2 separate regions of the Homo sapiens genome follow, and region 2 is linked to region 1. The links are contacts of gene promoters, found by promoter capture Hi-C in blood cells and fetal thymus (Javierre and others, 2016). All regions are on one chromosome and are shown on one strand. The core of a region is centred on a gene start or on the middle of the fragment in contact, and the rest is flanking DNA. Distances in the headings are between cores, read along the strand shown.

What was found. The method cuts DNA at HindIII sites, captures the fragments that hold promoters and counts their contacts. A CHiCAGO score of 5 or more calls a contact.
Region 2: a contact is called between a fragment that was not itself captured here and the fragment with the promoter of MCC in region 1, in 3 of 17 cell types (naive CD8 T cells, total CD4 T cells and activated CD4 T cells). The highest score is 7.0, in naive CD8 T cells.

Annotation. Positions count from the first base shown.
Region 1 is chr5:113,485,369-113,490,712 of GRCh38, reverse strand. It overlaps MCC (MCC regulator of Wnt signaling pathway), which reads left to right and starts at 2,260. Exons shown (of 19, transcript NM_001085377.2): 1 at 2,260-2,468. The coding sequence starts at 2,299. RefSeq lists an enhancer at 2,067-2,361. The HindIII fragment of the contact is 3,844 bases long and covers 1-3,227 here.
Region 2 is chr5:112,969,062-112,974,405 of GRCh38, reverse strand. LOC105379126 (a long non-coding RNA gene) reads left to right here. Exons shown (of 2, transcript XR_948679.3): 2 at 2,453-2,595. Among named protein-coding and RNA genes, the nearest start is that of DCP2, 5.1 kb to the left of the region's middle. RefSeq lists an enhancer at 4,592-4,671. The HindIII fragment of the contact is 1,357 bases long and covers 1,721-3,077 here.

The DNA.
Region 1 (5,344 bases), core at 1,011-3,510:
TTACTGTCCATAGTTCCATCAGCATTCTGATTATGACCATTTAACCAATTTCTAAGGAGTTCCAAACTTTCCCTGTTCTTCCTGTCTTCTCAGCCCTCACTAGAACCTAGGCTTTTTCTAGACTGCTGCTTCATTCTTGTAGCCTCTGCTCATTATCCAGTTTCAAAGCTGCTTCTCCATTTTCAGGTATTCGTTTTCGTTAACACCCCACTCCCGGTACTAATTTCTGGTCTTGTCAATTTTCTGTTGCTTAGAACAGACTACCTGAAACTAGGGTGATTTATAAAGAAATGAATTTATTTCTTACAGTTCTGGAGAATGAAAAGTCCAAGGTCAATGGGCCACCCTGCTGGTGGGGACTCTGTGCAGAGTCCCAAAACAGTGCAGGGCATCACATGGCAAGGGGGCTGAGCCTGCTAACTCAGGTCTCTCCTTCTCTTCTTATAAAGTCACTAGTCCCACTCCCATGATAACCCATTAACTCATTAACTCATGAATCTATGATTTTAGTGCCCTGAAATACTGGGAACTTAGAGAATAATAAAGAAGTAAAGTAGGAATAGGTAGATGGGGTGGAGAGGAGGAGAAAGAGAGCAGAGATTCCTTCCTTCTGACCTAGCAGACATTCCCAAGACATATGGACTTGTTCCAGTTATATATTGCTGCATAACAAATCACCTCAAAACTTAATGGCTTAAAACAACAATTTTTAATTATTATCTTCACAGCTCTGGGGGTTGGTTAGCCAGTTTTGCTCAGGGTCTCCAATGCAGTTGCAGCATCTAGAGCTAGCATCATCTCTCACTCATGTCTGGCACCTAGTCTGGGAAGATTCTAAGATCCAGGGCTAGAACAGCTGTAGCTCTTTGGTCATCTCCTTTTTTCTTTACATGGTCTTTCTGCATGGTTTCTCCAGCTTCAGGGTAGCCAAACTTCTTTTCAGGCAGCTCAAGGCTTCAAAGGTAAGTGTCCCAAGGGAGAGAGCCAAGTGCAATCTGCATTGCCTTTTCTAACCTAGTCTCAGAAGTCAAGGCAGTCACAAGTCCAATCCAGGTTTAGGGGAAGCAACAGACTCCACCTCTTGATGAGGGGTGCACCAAAGAATCTGTGGACATATTTTAAAACCACCAGAGAACTTCACACGCCTCTCTGGCAGAAAATCCAGGACAGAATAATGAGTCATTCACGAAACCACAAATTGCTTCACTGTGGTTTCCCTTTGGCTATGGGGGAATAGTGCAGTGTTTAAAGGCTCCTGCTCTGGAGTTAGGCTGCCCGGGCTTGCCTCTGCCCTAACACTTACTAAACCTGGAACCTTGAGCAGGTCTTGGTACCTCAGTTTTCTTACCTGTAAATTGGGAACAATGAGAGCTAACAGTTGTTGAGCACTTACTAGGTGTCAGACATTGTCCTAACTGCATTATGTCTGCTCTCCTTTTATATGTAAGATAACTCTATGAGGTACTTATCTATTAATACTTCCTAAGTCGTAGGATTGATAATAAAAGAGGCATCTTCCAGGTCTGTAGTGTGGATCAAATGAGACCATCTATTATGTTCGCTCTTGGCATTATTAAAGCTGTTGGGGGAAATTCTAGTGATGCCTGGCCAGTAGAGTGAGCCGTTTCCAGAAATTGACCCAACGTACACAATGCCACACAGCGTGCAGACTCTTCCCAGTACAGAGTGGGAGCCAAGATGAGGGCTGCGAGGGCCAGGTTTCTTGACAGGTGTCAAAATTTCATAAAAAGGCCAGTCATTCCGGTTCTCATTGGTGGCTATGGGTACAGAACCCGGAACAATCCTGGAGAGTGGGATTACAAGCACCGTTTTGAGTTTGCAGAAGGAGAGTGTTTATATAGCTTCTCTGGAAAAGGAAGCCATGACTCCGGGCGGTCGGAGAAGGTCTGCCGGGAGTACACCTGCCCTCTGCCTGAAGCGTCCCCAAGTGTCCCGGGCCCGCGTCGTTGCCGGATGCACAATGCTGACACCCTTCCCGGGGGCTTCCAGTGTATTCTGCCTCCTCTTGTGTTCCCGTTGCCACCCTTAGCTCCCTGACTCTTCCAGCCACCTTCCCCTCCTCCCTCTTCCCTGAGGTGCCTCCTCGGGCGATTCCAGAGCGCCCATCTTCCCAGTCCGGGCAAAACCCGGAGAGGTGGAATCCCTCGCCCGGAGCGCCCCGGCGGCCACTGGGCATGCTCCGTTGTCAGGCAAGTTCGGGGCTGCAGGCAGCTTGCGCGCCGCGCGGATTCCAGCTGCGGTCGCGCGTACTCCTCCTCCCAAGTAGGGAGCGGGCGCATGATGGCGGCCGCGGCGGCAGCGGCTGCGGGGAGCTCCAGCAGCGGCGGCGGCGGCGGCGGCAGCGGCAGCAGCAGCAGCAGCAGCGACACGTCCAGCACCGGCGAGGAGGAGAGGATGCGGCGCCTCTTCCAGACGTGCGACGGCGACGGGGACGGATACATCAGCAGGTACGCGGGGAGGTACGAGGAAACCGACAGGAGCGAGATCAGTCCCTCCGCGCGCCCTTGACCCCTGCTCTGCCCCCTCGCCCCAACTTGCGGCAAGTTGCTCAGAAGCTCGCGGGAAAAGTTGGCCGCGACTCCGAGAGCGCGTAGCCGGCTCGGCCACGAAGGCCGAGGGGACTGCTCTGTTCGCCTTGCGGGGGTGCCAGTTGGTCCAACTTTTCCCAGCGCTGTCTTTGTCTAGGCGTTGGGAGACATCTCCTTAGGATGCGCACTCTTCCGGGGGCTTGGAGTGTTCTTCCCTGTGGGAAAAGGAGTTCTGGCCGCTTGTCCCAGGTAGGAGGGGCTGCCCCACAGCCTCGGGGTCCTGGGCATCAAGATGCCGCAGCACGGGGCAGCGATCTGCCCGGCGGCTTGGTGGACACCCCAGGGCCGCACCGGGAGGAGATGAGCTAAGCGACAGCCTCGGACAGGGAAATAACCTGTGAAGAAACTTTCTTGTGCCGCAGAACCCATGAATTCCAAACTTCAGAGCCCAAAGAATGGGTATCGTTTGCCACCCAGTATTGATTTAAACGCAGTAGCCTGAGAGGAACGAAGCGCTCAGGAGCAAACTAGGGCTAGACCCGACTCCTACCCGGCTCTGTGCGCTGACCAGGTGAGCTTCGGCGTGGCTCCGGGCGCCTCCGCGCCTCCACTCACAAACAAACTTTGGGGTGTTTGCTTCGGATCCCCCGCACTTCCTACAGAGGCGGTATTTAAGCTTCCTGCCTCCCGGCTTGGCCAAATAATTACTTCTGCCCAAATTTGTGTCACTTAGACTCTTGTGGTGAAGAAGGCAATCGCAACATTTTCTGGTATGCTTCTATTGAATGGTTGACACCGGCCATTGAAGACTTGGTATCCGTGGAAATTTGAATTGCCTTGGATGAAGGAGCAGCCTAAGTTGTGCATTACATGTTTCTTTAGTCTATGTCTTGGTGATGCTAAAGATCGTTTCTGAAAATCCGGGGCTGCTTCCTGATTGTCCCTGCCTACCTAAAAAAAAAAAAAAGAAAGCAAAGTGCGGAATTTTTCCCTTAAAATAAAAAAAATTATTTATTTGGGACTCAACGCAATTTTGATCATTCTTAGGTGAATTTTTATTACTTTGCTAAAGTTTTACTGAGAAACATTAGGAAGATATCAGAAAACTTGATGGAGTAATTCTGTTCGGAAATGAAAATAATATGTAATTCTGATTGACTCCATGCAAATTTCTATCTGGAAGTCTCGTTATTTTGGTTCTGGGAGTAAAAGAAATTTCATTATATAGTTTTCCTTTTTGTTGTTTTCCTACTTGAAAGGTTATTATCTCATTTGCAATAATAAAGGCAAACTCCAACTTTGGATACAATTTTTTTTTTTTTTAGACAGAATCTCGCTCTATCACCCAGGCTGGAGTACAGTGGCGTGGTCTTGGCTCACTGCAACCTCCGCCTCCTGGTTCAAGAGATTCTCCTGCCTCAGCTTCCCGAGTAGCTGGGATTACAGGTGCCCACTACCACTCCCGGCTAATTTTCGTATTTTTAGTAGAGAAGGGGCTTCACAATTTGGCCAGGCTGGTCTCGAATTCCTGACCCTAAGTGATCCGCCCGCCTCGGCCTTAGGAAGCGCTGAGATTACAGGCCTGAGCCACCGCTCCCCGCATGGATGCAAAAAAGTTTAATTTCACACGGGCAAGAGTGCATACAGAAAACTAGCAGCGTGCTATCCTTTTCTAATTTGGCCTATTAATATATTGCTTTATCTGAACTACACTTTCTATATAAATGCTCACATTATTTTCGGTGATTCTACCCGGGAGGATAATGAATTCTGTAAGCGTAATTTGAGTAAAGTGGGTGGTGATAAAGAAGCCGTTTTGGATTAGAGTAGAAACTGGCTGGGGCAAAAGTGGAAAAAGTTGTTAACATTCCTTGAGCTGCATTACTTTAATGTGTCTGCTTAAAAGTTTCAAGGTATGTGTAGTAATGAACCCTAAATCATAACTTTAACTGTGGGTGGAGCTGCCCTGAAAATTATGCTGTGGCAGAATTGCCATGTAGGAGAAGTTTAGGGATGGCAATCTAGGGCAACAAGGAACTTGTCTGGAAGTGTGTTTACCTGGTAAGCACAGTTTTACCTGGAATTTACGTTTATGTGGTAAGACTTGGGGAATGGGGCTAATGAAGGTAAGGGGCATTAAATGATTCCCTCTCTGAAGCCACTTTTCTGTGCTGCTTTCATTTAATGACCTGTACTTACCACTCTGTAGTGGGTGATGTGGTTTGGAGGGTTGTGCATTCCTGTTCTATCAGACATGAGAGTTGGACTTTTTAACATTAAAACCTTAAAAACTTTGGATTCATCTAAAGACGTTAAATTTATGTTCCTGGTAGACAGCTGTATCTGTTAGAATTTCAGATGACTATATGTCATCACAGTAACCTAACCATAGTCAAGTAAGGGTTGGCTTTGTCACCTAGTAGAAATCTGGAGGTAGGCTATCTAGGTTGGGGCAGCAGCTCTGCGGTGGTGTCAGTCCCCAGCTACCTTCTACCTTTCTCCAACACCATTTTTCACATAAAGCATTCATCCTCATGGTTATCTCATAGTCCAAAGGTGATTGCCCTGTCTCCCTCTTCATCCCCAAATTCTAGGGAAGAAGATGTAAAAGGAAGTGGAAATAAGTTGTGCCTGTATCATTAAAGCAGAGCTTTCCCAAATCCCTTAATTGACATCTTATTGGTCAAACTACATCACTTAACCATGCCTACTTCAGTAGAGTCCGAGGAAGCATATAATTCAACTAGGCACATTACCTCCTAAACAAAATCTGGGTTCTGTTACTAAGAGCAGGA
Region 2 (5,344 bases), core at 1,150-3,649, 520 kb after region 1:
GGGGCAGCTATACAACCCCTTTTGGGCTCTTAGAGGCCAGGAAGTCCCCAAACTCTCACATGGTGTTAAACCAATCTGCCTTATTAAGAGTTTCTGAGATGTCTGTGGTCCAAGATATTATCTTGCCCATGCCCCATCCCTCCACTGCCTCCTCACACACAGATTTCCAGGAGCTGGACTAGTGCAACCCTTATAGCAGCCCCCCAAGCCATGACTTCCAAAGAAGCCAACTGTATGGTAGAGGCACCTGACAGCAGTAACGTAAGCAGACCCAGGGGAATGACCCTGTGTGGCAGACAACCTGAATGAGTTTGCAGTTACAACCAAGATTCATTCCTTATCTATGAGGAACATCTGAGCCCTGTGGAATGCAGGCTGCACAGGAGGGCTAGGCCCTTTGTTTTGGGCTAAATGAAAGTTGTCAGGTGGAAGCTGTTAGGGAGAGGGTGCAAAATGAAAATGCTATATAAACTGCATGCTTTCTGCAGGTGATGTTGTTCTCATGTCCAGCTCACCTCTAGTGGACCGCTCTGTATGCAAGTTCCTCTCAATAAACCATATGCCTCATTTGCTGGCTCTGGGTCTCTTCTTCAGCCTCTTGAACCTAGTGCCATCCCTGTTAAAGTGAATAGGGACACCAAGGCCTCAATTCCATCTAATTGTTCACAGGACCCAGCTGAGAATGACAAAGGGGAGCTTAGAGTTGAGGTAACAGGAGAACAGGAGATGCTAGGGTTCTTAAATTATAATACTGATTTGATTTTTAAATAATTAGGTTGATTAAAACCTTTATAGTTTTAAAATATGCTATTTCATTTAGTCTTTTTTTTGGAACAAGATCCCACTCTGTTGCCCAGGCTGGAGTGCAGTGGCATAGCTCACTCCTGGGCTCAGTCTCCCACCTCACCCTCCCAAGTAGCTAGGAATACAAGTGCGCACCACCAGGCCTGGCTAATTATTTTTTTAAAAACTTTGTAGAGACAGGGGTCTCACTAGGTTGCCTATGTTAGTCCTAAACTCCTGGCCTCAAGCAATCCTCCTTCCTCAACTTCCCAAAGCACTGGGATTACAGGCATGAGCCACCGTGCCTGGCCTCATTTAGTCTTTATTACTACATGAAATAGACAAAGATTAATGAGGCTTATAAAGATTAAATGACTCAAAGATTAATGATTAAGCAACAGTATATAATTGAGTCAGGACTAGCATTCAGTTCTAAACTCATAGCAGGAATTCTGCCTTAGGGAGAATGACACAAAAACTATTGTTTATGCCTGTACAGCATATTATACTATAATATTCAAATATAATAATCTCACAACAAAATAAGCTGTCACTGAATCCTAAAAAATATTTAACTTGCTTATTGGCCTTTTAAATTGAGTGAGGTCGCCTGTAATCCCAGCACTTTGGGAGGCCAGGGCGGGTGGATCATGAGGTCGGGAGATCGAGACCATCTTGGCTAACACGGTGAAACCCTGTCTCTACTGAAAATACAAAAACTTAGCCAGGTGTGGTGGCAGACGCCTTTGGTCCCAGGTACTTGGGAGGCTGAGGCAGGAGAATGGCGTGAACCCAGGAGGCGGAGCTTGCAGTGAGCAGAGATCACACCACTGCATTCCAGCCTGGGCGACAGAGCGAGACTCTGACTCAAAAAAAATAAAAATAAAAATAAATAAATAATTAAATAGAGTGAGGTTAAATTAAGTCTGTCAAAGCTTCTTCACATCCCTACAAAGTTCTTATGGTTCAACTCAATGTTTATAGAGTAATACATAATTGCCCCTTCTGTTAGTCCCACACTCTTTCTAGTATAATATCTCCCACAGCATATAATATGTTTTAGTAACATCTACCAAGAAACAAAAATCTCCCTTGATCTCTATGGCAGTCTTACTAGATGCTGACTGTATTAGTCCGTTCTCACACTCCTAATAAAGACATACCCGAGACTGGGTAATTTATAAAGGAAAGAGGTTTAATTGACTCAGTTCCACATGGCTGGGGAGGCCTCACATCATGGCAGAAGGCAAAGGAAGAGCAAAGTCATATTTTACATGGCAGCAGGCAAAACGAGCATGTGCAGGGGAACTCCCCTATATAAAACCATCAGGTCTTGTGAGATTTATTCACTGTCATGAGAACAGCACAGGAAAGACCCACCCCCATTATTCAATTACCTCCCACCAGGTGCCTCCCATGACACATGGGAATTATGGAAGCTACAATTCAAGATGAGATTTGGGTGGGGACACAGCCAAACCATGTCACTCACCAATCCCGTTTCCTCTTCCTGGATTCACAGGCCTCCTTGCATTTAGATGGAAAAACGCAATTGAGTTCTGGCCAGTGGAATGAAGATAAACGTGATATACCCAACTTCAAAGCACAGCTCCTGAAATGCTCTATGTAATTTTCACATAATTTTTATTTCTCCCTTTTCTCTTCCCAGCTGAAAGCAAAGAACTCTTTAGATAGTGGAGTCACACTGGAAAAAGCACAGACCCTTGAGTGTACTGCTTGGAGGAGAGCTACCCTGGAGCATTTGCTCCAGATTCTGCATGAGCAAAAAATAAACTTTTGCTGCATAAAGTATCTTGTTTTTTTGTTGTTGGGTTTTTTTTCTCTTTACACACAAACCCTTTTCCATAATCAGTAAATGCAGGTTGTAGTGGTCATTCTTGTTTGCATGCCCAGCACTCATTTACCCAGGGCCAGCTGCATGTGTGTGTATGTATAAACCGTATAGTTGCACAGAACCCTACACTCAGAAAGGCCCCATGTTTGGTTTAATGCTCTGCTGTTACCATCTTGAAATTCTCAATTTTGTTTTTGAACTTGTGTTTTGTAAGTAAAATTGGAGGGACAATAGAGCATGAGCAGAGCCGAGACGTGCAATATGCATGTCCACTCACTCTTTGCCATGCCATTTGCATATAGCATTTGCATTGTCCTATTTAAATAGAATTTCACTGAACTCACAATGCATGAAAGTTCAGCAAGATTCAGAGTAAGAACAACATAGGCACATAGGAACTGAGTAGGTGGGGTCGCTGTCAGCCCTAGGAGGTCAAGCTTCCTGTGTATCAGAACTTGTTCTAATGCAAGAAGACAATGGCAGTCTAAAAACACAAAGAACCAAGAAACTCTATCATATCCTTTCCTATTGCTTTCCTGATTTAGCCAACCCCTTATGCTGAAAATGATGACATAGAAGGAAAGGGGAAGATCGAGCAACCCATCTTTTCCTTTTCTTTTTAGTTTTTTCCTCATCAATAAGAAGGTAGAGAGTGTGGTAGAATATGTATGTGCATATCAAGAAGTGACGTAAAAACAGTTGACTTTCGTACAGCATTTTGACTGTTCTGGTAACAATGAAATATATCATACATGTACAAAGTATGAAATAAGAATTATGTAATTTCAGTGATTCCACGTACAAGTTAAATGTTCTTATATTTGCATTTAAAACCAAAATTGTGGTTGGGCGCAGTGGCTCACACCTGTAATCCCAGCACTTTGGGAGGCTGAGGTGGGCAGATCATGAGGTCAGGAAATCGAGACCATCCTGGCCAATATGGTGAAACCCTGTCTCTACTAAAAATACAAAAATTAGCTGGGTGTGGTGGTGCATGCCTGTAATCTCAGCTACTCGGGAGGCTGAGGCAGGAGAATCACTTGAATCCGGGAGGAAAGATTGCAGTGAGCTGAGATAGCATCTCTGCACTTCAGCCTGGCGACATAGCGAGACTCCATCTCAAAAAAAAAAATAAAAAAGAAAAAAAAAAAAAAAAGCCAGCATTGCATAATATAAAGATGGTAAAAAGTCTTTGTAATGATTTTAATTTTACTTAGAATGAATTTAATTTTACTTAATTTTAATTTTAATCTTTATTTAGAATGACATTAAATATCAAAAACACCATAAGTGAAGAGAGAAACTGTGAAAGAAAGAAAAAGCCTTTATATTCTAGTATTTTTGTTGTTGTTGTAGTTAAGAGATGAGGTCTCAGTTTGTTGCCCAGGCCAGACTTAAACTCCTGGGCTCAGCAATCCTCCTGCGTAACTGATACTATAAGTGTATGCCACCTCGCCTGGCTTTCTAGCACCTTTAGTGACACTTTTTTCCTGCCTTTTGAATAAGGAGCTCTATATTTTCATGAGAGGAACAGGCTCTGCAAATTATGTATTAATAGCAGGCCCTGAATTCACCCCTTACTCTTTCCTAACAGAACCCTGATTAAGACATGTATCCCTTAGCTTCCCTCACACAGCACATGTGACTCTGGGGAAGCCAGAAACACTTTTGGCTCAAAGGCCAAAATCTGGTTGGTAAATCAAACACCACACTCCATTCCCTGGAAATGTACCCATTCTCTGGACAGGTACATACCTACATAGTCCAGTCAGTGTATACCATAGAACTCTTGCTTAAAACTTCGTGATGAAAAAGTCTCTCTTCTTTCATTGGATGTCATCAGGTCAGGATATGATGTCTGGAACTTCTACAGCCAGTACTCAGTGACTGATATACTACTACTCACTATCACTTTGAGGTTGAAGCTAATGTGTGGAATGGGGCAAAGCTGAAAGATCTGTAGGAAAATGGACCCAGAATTGTCAGGAAACGGGCTGGGAGAGAGACAGAGAGCACTAGCTGAGCTAACAGGTATCAGAGTAGCCAATTAGACCAACGAGCCAAAAATGAGAGTAGCGTTTACTGCAATGATACAAACAAGAAACAGAGAAAGTACCCACAGTTTCTGTTCCATTTCCCCCATGGAACTGCGCACTAGCTGCAGGTCACATGAGTCAGCACGGATGTAGGGGGTCATGGAGTCATATCACTGTTAAGGGATCCCTGAAGAAAAAGCTCCAGCAGTTTTATGGACTCTGAGGTGGAGTAGGGGAAGGCAAGGGGGAAAGGCTAAGAGTGGAAAAGTACTGAGTACCTAGGCAACCTGGAAAAGAATGTCAAGGTTTCCCCTCCCCTCCCCATAAGGAGGCCTCAGCAGAGAAGCCTAAAGAACCCTCTCCCCAGCCAGGCACAGTGGCTCACGCCTGTAATCCCAACACTTTGGGAGGCCAAGGCTGGCAGTTTGCTTGAGCTACTGAGTTCGAGACCAGCCTAGGCAACATGGCAAAACCTTGTCTCTACAAAAACTACAGAAAAATTAGCCTGGCATGGTGGCATCCACCTGTAGTCCCAGCTATTCAGGAGGCTGAGGTGGAAGGAGTGCTTGAGCCCGGGAAGCCAAGGCTGCAGTGAGCTGAGATTGTACCACTGTACTACAGCCTGGGTGACAGAGCCAGACCCTCTCTCAAAAGAAAAAAAAAAAAATCC